Regions from separate parts of the Homo sapiens genome. Here region 1 is linked to region 2. Evidence: promoter capture Hi-C in 16 types of primary human blood cells and fetal thymus (Javierre and others, 2016). All regions are on one chromosome and are shown on one strand. Each heading gives the region's core, a stretch centred on a gene start or on the middle of the fragment in contact. The rest is flanking DNA. Distances are from core to core; before and after follow the strand shown.

Region 1 (4,444 bases), core at 796-3,295, 2.1 Mb before region 2:
ATTACAGCAAATCTCTTAGATGGTAGTTGCTTAAAAGTGCTTCCACTGCACTTTGATTACACATCTGGCTTAGCAAAAGCTTTTCCTTACTGTCTGCATAAAACTAAGCATTCCGTCTTAGTTTCCTCTAGGAATAAACTACCTTTCTCCATGTTAGCCTGTAACTAATTTAACTCCCCATCGCCCAGAGAAGGCTTGTGGAACATCTGAACCTGTCTGTGGGGGCCAAGCTCCTGAAGGGTGATTAGTAACATGTTCTCTCTTCAGTGTTCCATAGGACATTTGGAATCAATTAAATATTCAAATACAGAGTCCCTCAGATCTCTGGCCAGGCCCAGCAAGTTTGTCAGGGGGAGGGAGTTGAAGGCAGATAACTGCTCTTCCTCACACCAGAATCTATAGCTGGAGACAGACTTTTAAAATATACCCTTTAGGCTTCCTGGTCTGCAAGCAAATAGTTGTCCACAACATTAGAAATAATATGGAAAAACAACAGCAGCCTTATAGAGTAATAGGAGTCACAGCATATACGACAACTACTCTCAAACAAGGTGTCTTAAAGGTAAACAAGTAAGTGAGTACATTGGGCCTGGAAGACTGTACCAGTCATTTAAGTACAATAGTATGGTATGTACTGGCTACAAATGGTCTTTACATTTTTGAAAGATTATAAAAAGAAATCTGGCCTTTTAGATGAAGTTTGCTGCCCCTTGGTTTAGAGTTTTGTTTCCATGATATGTACTTGCCTAACCATTAGCATCGCTAATTACTATTACTGCTAATGGATAGTAATGATTATGTGCATTGTGGAAGGAGAAATGGATGTGTGCCTGTATGTGCCAGACACTTTGCTAAACATTTTACCTAGTCTGTCTCTTTCATTCACTGAGTAATCCTTTAAAGTAGACACTTATATTTCAATATAGAGCCAAAAAAAATAATAGCTCGGAAAGGTTAAGTAACTTGCCAAGGTTACAGGAAGCATTACACAGTAGAGCTGTTAGTCAAACCCAATGTGGTGGTGTGTTTAAGCTGTGAAGCCCCTTGTCCAATTAAATCCTACTTAGAACCCCACTATATAAAATAGTTACTCTGAGCAAAGTTGAAACAGAAGGCCAGCAACCTCAACCCTTCTCAGAATAAGCTGCTTGAAACACGAGTCAATTTTTCAAAAAAAATGAAGCTGAGAACCAGCATGGAAAATGGGCTTTCAACTCATTTCTTCCATGATCTGGCACATTACAGTTTCCCCTCTGATATACTGCTGAGGGTGAGAACAATACCAAAATAACAGGACTGCCTTTTACTTATTTCTTTGCCCAGTAAAATGGATTAAAGTGAGTCAGCAAAAGGGAGAAAGAAGGAGGGGAAGTTAAGGACTTCTTCAAAATCTACCTCATCATTTTGGAGCTCTTAGTCCTCAATTCCATCAAACACAGTGGTGCGAAGGACATCTTCCAAATGGCAGCTCATTTTACCTTAATAGTTGGTGTTTCCAGGTAAGTTTCTAGCTTTCTATCATGATAAGTTAATATATCCTATTTTATTATGGTGCCACAAACAAAAGAACTCTGAAAGGCTCAACTCTTACAAAAGGTCCAAATCCCCTGAAAAGCATCAAGTATCAAAATGCAGCCAGAAAAGATGGTATTAAATGAAAAAAAGGGGCTCCCTTTTAATGAAGTCGAGGTGTAGGACAGATTTATTAGCTTCCATTTTTCCAAGTTGCATTCTGGTGTATTTCCTGCCTATATTTCTAAGTTCAGCAGGTCTCTTTGTAGGATTACTTTTTAAAAATACAATGTTTCAAAGAATATGATGCAGCTATATCCACTACACCTGCAGAGACACACCTGTGATGATACACTGTTTCTCCAATTCACAAGGCAATGCTCTAACAGAAAACAGACCTTCTGCATGATATGCCAAGATCCTGCCATTCTTGAAAATAACCGATACTCATAAGCTGATATTATAAATGGTCTTAAAAATAATAACCAAGAATTATCCCTGGGCTAAATAGTCATTAAATTCAGTGTAACTGTCTATACTTTAGTGTTATAATTCCTTTTTCCGATATGAGATAGTGAAACAAATAATTAAAATTAAGTAGATACTTTTGATGTTGTAACACAGATGCCTGCAATATTCCTATTTGGGCTCAATTATTCTTATGCATACCATTATTTACTGATTTTTTACTGTGTGCTGGGCACTATACTTGATTCTTGATGGAGGAAAGCTAATAATAAAATAAATCTCCTTTCCTTAGAGAATTTCTATTCTGATTATCTGACTGAACCTGTGAATGAATAATTAGTGCACTAAACTCCTAGTAAAAGTACCAAGATCAAGGGGGAAAAAAAAAGTAGGAAGAGAGAATTGTCTCTGCCTACGGGGGCTGGAGAAAGGAACACATTTGAAAGGAACCTGAAGGGTAAGTCGTATTTCCAAGGAAAAAGGAGATGGCATTCCAGACTGAAAGAACAATATAAAGAAAGGCCCAAAGCAAGTGAGTAGGTGACTGTTCTAAAATCAGGACTGGATTATCTGATGGGATGACCAGAGATGTACTGTCCAAGATACCAGTTGCTAGACATGTGCCTATTTAAATTAACATTACATATAATTAGAAATTCAGTTCTCAGTTGAATTTGAAGTACTTAATAATCCCATGTTTCTAGAGTCCATCACATCAGACAACACAGAGTATTCCTTTCCTCACTGCAAAGTTCTACTGAACAGTGCTGAGTATGAGAGTATAGGGTAAGCATGGTGCTGTCTCATGGAGCCTCAACTCTATCTTCAACAGTTTAATCTTTAGTCTAAATAAAAGTGGTTTATAAACCACTATATTCTATGAAATCCCTTTAGGAATTGCCGTGGGGGACTCCACCTTGGCAGCATTGCGATAACCTGCTTTACCCCCTCCAGCTTCTACGTTTCAGTGAAACACCGCTTTTGAAGAAAGAATTCTGCCAAATTTTTTTTTTTTTAAGGCTCAAAACCCACTGTTTTTTAAGCAGGAATGTGATAGATTTGGGTTTTAGGAATATTATCTCTCAGAGCAGTGTACAAGATACGTGGCAAGAAGAGACTGGGCAGACCAAGATCAGCATAGGCTAATGGTGACATGATAAAGGACTGTATTCAGTGAAGCCTCCAAAGAAATGCACAGTTAAGAATTTGTACCAGTAAATTTATTCCAAGTAAGACTTGTGTGCACACACCAGGCAGATAATTTCCACACAAACACCAAACATTGTAGTAAAACTAGTTAACACTTTGGCCATGAAACTCAAAGATACTTGAAAAACCTCTCGATAGCACTTTGAGTCACTTAATTCTGACAAATATTAATATGTCATCCATGCTTGCCCAGTTATAATTTTACAATATAATTGTATTTTTCATTGTACTTATTATTCATTATACTTACTATATATATTTAAAACATCTTTGCTGAAATTCTCTTATCCCAAAAATAATTTTTCAGTAACTCCAAAATACCCACATGTACCTCTTAGCAGGCTATTCCAATATCAAAATTCTTTTTCTTCAAGTAACAAGTTCTCAATCCACACCATTCCTGATCACAGATATAACTGATATGCAGTTTTATAAACAGCTCTTTTACTCCTTGTTCCTATTTTAGCAGGCCAACCATCACTTCACTGATATCCCAGAGTTTTCTTGCAACAGATTCATCCATAGCTTTGGGCAACAGTTCTTCCTCTTTACAATCCCCAAAGTATCTTCCTGACACTCCTTCTACCTCAGGTGAAGAGGCCAAATAAATGGAAGTCTGGGCACCTTCTACTGGAGTTTTGAAAAAAGCCCATGACACCAAATTGAAGAGTGGTTTGACCAACAGTGGAATGTGTATGTGCCTCCCCAGATTTGTCCGTACAATACCAGGATGCAACACATTGACGGTGACATTTGTGCCTTCTAAGCGGCGGGCTAGTTCCCTGGTAAAAAGAATGTTAGCCAGTTTGCTCCGGCTATAACAAAAGCTTTTATTATAGCTTTGTTCACTGTTCAAGTCATCAAAATTGATGTCTCCGTATTTATAAAGTTTGGAAGAAACTACCACAATCCTGCTGGGAGCTGAACTTTTGAGGAGTCCAAGGAGAAGATTGGTGAGTAGAAAGTGCCCCAGATGGTTCACTCCGAACTGCATCTCAAACCCATCTTCAGTCTTCATGTAAGGGCACTGGAAGATCCCTGCGTTATTGATCAAGACATCCAGCCTAGGCTCTTCCTTTAAATGTCAAAAAGAGAATGGCAGAATTATTAAGAACACACGCCTTGTATTGCTTTTTCTGTTCATGATAATTACATTTTAATAAAAATGGGCACTTGAGACTAAAAGCATTTAATTTCAGTTGTTGGTCTATCGATCAGAGAACTACTTGAAACACTGGCAATTTTGTGTTTAATA
Region 2 (4,666 bases), core at 1,893-4,392:
TCCTAGGCTTCGCTGTCACATCTGCCCATCAGCCTGCAGCTGCTCCCTGATAGCTGCCCTCTCCTGGGACTGTAGACAAACTGGCTGGCTGCTCCTAAGGCCAACCTTCTACCAGGGCAGCGGCTCCGAGGCCCTCCCACCTACTGAAGGACATAGCTGCTGCAGCTCACCCCTCTTTTTCGCACCATCGATTTTCCTTCCTTACTGGCCCACGCTTATTAGCATGCAACCATGCTCTGACCACTCATGTAACAAAAGCTGTGCTTTGACCCGACATTCCCCTTGCTCCGTTTCCCTCCTGCCCTTTCCAGCAGAACTCCTCAACAGAGGGCCCCATATTCATGGGTTCCTCTCCTCCTGTTTGATCTTGAACCCTTTCCAGCCAGACTTTGGTCCTCATCATGCAACAAACTGCCCACGCCCAGGTCATCTGCGACCTCCATGTGGTTAAATCCAAAGGTGAATCCTCATTTCTCCTCTGGTCTGACTTGTCAGCAGCAGTGGGCACAGTCAGCCACTCCCCTCCTTCAAGCTCTGCCTTCACTGGTGGCTGGAGCACCCCCTCACTCTTGGTTCTTCTCTGCCCACCCTGGCCACTCTTGCTCAAACAGGAGGAGAGGAACTGCTTTGGATGGTTCCCCTTGATAGCATCCAGAGCACCCTCCTTCTTCCTCTCACTGTACCCCTCCCCAGGTGATCTCATCCAGGCTCCAGGCTTTAAATACCATTTCCGAGCCAATGGCTCCCCAACTCCCATCTTTAGCTCACTCTCCCCTCACAGCCAGCCTCCTTCCAGCTGCAGCTGCCTGACATCCCCACTGGGCTGTCAACGAGCTTCTCAAAACTCACCTGTCTACACAAATGCTGCTTCTACCTCTCCCCAAGCCTGCTAAAGGGCAGCCTCATTCTTCCAGCAGCTTAGGCTGAGAGACTTGCCGTTAGTCTTAACTTCTCTTCTTGTTCTCACACCCCATATCCAAGCATCAGCAAACCTGAAAGCTCAATCTTCAAAATATATCGAGAACCCAAACATTTCTCACCCTCACGGCCGCCATCACCCCGGGCCAAGCCACCACCGGCTCTACATGGAAACCTACAAGCCTGTCCTGAATGCTCAGCTCGGCCACTGCCCATGCTCAGCATAGCAGCCAAAGGATCTCTATAAACCAGAAGTTGGGCCCTATTGCACTTGAAATTAAATCTGATGGCCCCTCCACAGCCTTCTCGGCCTTTCCTGATCATCCTTCACTCCCAAGCTTGCCTCTTCACCGCATCACCTAACACTCTCCCTGGGCTCACTCCACTCCAGCATACCAGCCTCGGGACCCTGGCTCCTGCTGTCCTGTCCTCCCAGTACACACTTTTCCAAGATTTCTTTTTCATGGCTCTCTCCCTCATGGAGCTTGTCCGGGATCTGTCCAGGCGCCACTCCATCAGAAAGATGCCTCTTTACCACACCATAGAAAACAGCATGCATGCCTCCTACCACTCTGTTGCCCCCACTGTTTTGTTTTCCTTCATAGCATGTATCATCCCTGACATGTCGTAGATTTGCCCACTGGGCCTGTGCCCTCATTAAAGCTCTACGAGAGGGACTTGTTTGTCTCCTAGAACTAGGGCCAGTACCCGGTACAGAGAAGGCTCTCGATAAACACCTTCTGGCTGAATTCAAGCTTGAGTGCATGTGGCAATGACATGTGGGAGGAGATCGGGCTGGAAAGAGGAGCTGGGGTGCGACTGGGAAGGGCCGGCCTTGCTGCTGGGCTAAGGCGTTTGGACTCACCCTGCAGGCAAGATCCTTGGGTGTGCTGGTGCCCTCAGCAAGAAATGAGCCTGACTCATGTGGCCTTACCACCGCCAGCGCCCCCACATCTGTTAACAAGCCACGTCCAGGCTGTGCAGCGGGGCAGGGAGGGAAGCCACCCACCCCATCCCAAGCACCCAGCACCAAAGTCACACCCCATCCATCTGCACATGGCTGAGGGGCATATACTACTGACGTTGCTCATGCCTGCCAATCTGAAACCTCCAATTCACAGAAAAGGAAACTGAGGCTTGGTGAGAGGAGGTGACGTAAGTGGCAGTAGGGAAACCTCTTCTGCCCATGAAGATACAACTGTAACCACACTTGATCATGAAAGACCAAGCAGCCTCCGACATCAGGGTTTACAAAAGGAATCATACCTTTCTAGACCTGAAGTCACGGGGAATTCCTGATTACAACTGGAAGATCAACAGTTGGCTGGGTAACACGTTCATTTATGTCATAAATTGGCATCTTAGCCTAAGACTTTGTGTAGGGAGAGCAAGGGTGAAGTGTATGAAAATATTTGAAGTAAATCACTTTACAGCGTTTTAAAGGCGGAAAGAAGTAAAAGCACGTGCCTCCCAGCCTTGCCAGGATCCACCTTGGGCTGGGTCCTCCAGGTCTCGATCAGGGCCGACCCATTCTGCATCCTCCGCCTGGACCCCTCCAAGGCTTTTGCTGTAACTTGCGCTCTCCTGAGCTGCCTCGCAAGCAGCAACGACCTCTCCCTGGTCTCTCATCAAACTCATCCTCCCAGAAACCGGGTTCCTGCCCTGTACTGTGTTCCCATGGCAACCTGAGCTTACTACCCGCTGCTGGCATCACCCCCTCTCCGCTGCAGCCCCCTGCAGGGCGAGCTTGTCTGATTCGCCTCTGTCCCCAGTGCCCAGCACCGGGCCTGGGACTCAGGGAGCTCTGAAAGGATGGGGAACTAGATTTTCGGGCTCAAAAGAGAAGAACCCAAGGCGGTAGGAAAGGAGAGCAGAGTCCCCACTGCGCCCGCCTGCACTGAACCAGTCAGTCCCAGGGCTCCCGCTGTCCTTGGCTAGTTCTCTACCCTCCAGAGGGCCTCGGTTTCCTCATCTGTAAATCGGGGTCGCCACCTCTCCTGCAGGGCGGTGCAGGGGCCCAGCCCGGATAAGCCACCGAGGGCGCTGGGGAGACCTGCACCAGGTCCCTGGCCTAGGAGGCGGCGGCCTCCCCCCGCCTCTCCGCCCGGGCGCCCCGGACTGCGAGCTGTGCGGTGTGGGGCGCGGGGGTCTGGCTCACCTGGAGGTGACGAGCACCGCCGGGGACTGCATGACGGCGGCGGGGACTCCGGGCGGGGCGCGCAGTCACGGGACCCGGCAGTGCCCGCGTCACCGCGTCCCCGCCCTGCCTCCCGCTGCCCTGGCCTGCCCCCTGGTGGCAGCGGCCGCGCAGTTCGCGCCTGTGGCCAGAGGCGGGGCGGAAGCGCGGCTGGGCGGGTCCCGCACGGTCGCCGTCGGCCTGCGCTGCTCGGAGCTTCCGGAGCACCCAGGCTGAGCCGCGCCCGCCGCAACCACCTAGAAGAAGCCCAGCCTGGCCCTGGCACACGGTGAACCTTAATCGGTGTGTCTGTTTTGCGCTAAAGTTTAGCCGTTAGAGAGACGGGACTCTGCTGTTTCCGCCGCCAGTCCCCATTACAAAACCACTCCCCCTCTGCCCCAAGACCATTTCATTCAACCGATCGGTCAACAAATATTTACCAAGCTGGGGCTCTGTCCAGGCTTCGTGGGGTCTTCTTCAAGCTGCACAGTGAACGCCACGCAGCAGCCCAGTCCCCTTGAGCTTGCTGCCTCCAGCTAGCTCGCCTATCTGGTTCCTACTGCCTGCCCGCTCCATAAATGGCAGGCACTCTCCCGACAGGGGATCTTTAGAGAGGCAGCCTCTGCTGCTTGGCAGAGCCCTGGTGGAGGCCTCCCGGGGCCGGGCCTGCCTGGGATGGCTGCACTTGGGTCCCCAGCTGGAGCAGGGCAACGGGGTCCAGGAGCCAGTTCCCCTCAGAAGGGGAACGTACAGACATGCAGACCCTAACAGACCCACTCATTTTAGATTCACCTCTCCATGGGGTGAGGAACAGAGAGATCGTATCACCTGCCAACGTAGCCCAGGGAAAGAAAAGCTGAGTCTGCAAACAGGGCCAGCAGAAGGTGCAAACTGCTGCCCCTGTTCTGTTACTCCCTCCACCCAGAGCCCCAGTGACAAAAAGAAAGAGAAGCTGGGCTTAACTATACCAGAATTCACGGCAGGGCGATGTCAGCCATGTTTCCTGAGCCTATCAACCACCGCCACCAGCATCACCAACAATATCTACCAGTTTTTACAGATTTTAGTGAAGAAATCCTACAGTAAAAGATTTTGAAAAATGACTTTCCCCAATGTATCTCTTGAATAAATACGGACATTGATATGCCTTATTATTTGTCTCAGATTTGTTTATAGGCAAGATGAGCAATCATGAATGAAGTATGACAATGAATGAAAGTTCTGAGGGAGACCCTTGAAGGCTGCAGTGAAGAGCTGGGATGATGGCGGGAACCCCTGTCTGCTCTGCTGCTCATCGGCCTGTCCGTCTGCAGGGCCGTGTTCATGGCTGCAAATGGTCCTCCGTGTTTTGTTTAAATTGGCATGCCCTACTTTAGAGAAAGGGAGTTCAGGGTCTGGACAGAAAGCAGTATAGGCTTCAGCATTCCAGGAGTCTGAGTGTAGTGCCAGGCAGTCGAGCAGTCACCATTGCACTCACATTTATCCAACAGACAGAAACACAGTGAATAAGACACTTTAGATGCCTTCAGTGGACTTCTTTGCCCTCCTACATGGGGAGTGGGTGGGGGTCTG

The links. Contacts are between HindIII fragments. The CHiCAGO score rates a contact against its expected background, and 5 or more counts as called.
Region 1: a contact is called between a fragment that was not itself captured here and the fragment with the promoter of HS1BP3 in region 2, in 1 of 17 cell types (naive CD4 T cells). The highest score is 7.8, in naive CD4 T cells.

Annotation. Positions count from the first base shown.
Region 1 is chr2:18,551,545-18,555,988 of GRCh38, forward strand. It overlaps NT5C1B-RDH14 (NT5C1B-RDH14 readthrough), which reads right to left. Exons shown (of 11, transcript NM_001199104.2): 11 at 3,179-4,264. The coding sequence ends at 4,240. RDH14 (retinol dehydrogenase 14) reads right to left here. Exons shown (of 2, transcript NM_020905.4): 2 at 3,179-4,264. The coding sequence ends at 3,647. Among named protein-coding and RNA genes, the nearest start is that of RDH14, 6.9 kb to the right of the region's middle. The HindIII fragment of the contact is 3,937 bases long and covers 78-4,014 here.
Region 2 is chr2:20,647,956-20,652,621 of GRCh38, forward strand. HS1BP3 (HCLS1 binding protein 3) reads right to left here and starts at 3,143. Exons shown (of 7, transcript NM_022460.4): 1 at 3,077-3,143. The coding sequence starts at 3,108. It overlaps LOC105373466 (a long non-coding RNA gene), which reads left to right and starts at 3,327. Exons shown (of 2, transcript XR_001739320.2): 1 at 3,327-3,397; 2 at 4,020-4,245. RefSeq lists enhancers at 2,490-2,569, 2,590-2,739, 2,824-3,561 and a silencer at 2,820-3,409. The HindIII fragment of the contact is 7,312 bases long and covers 1,672-4,666 here.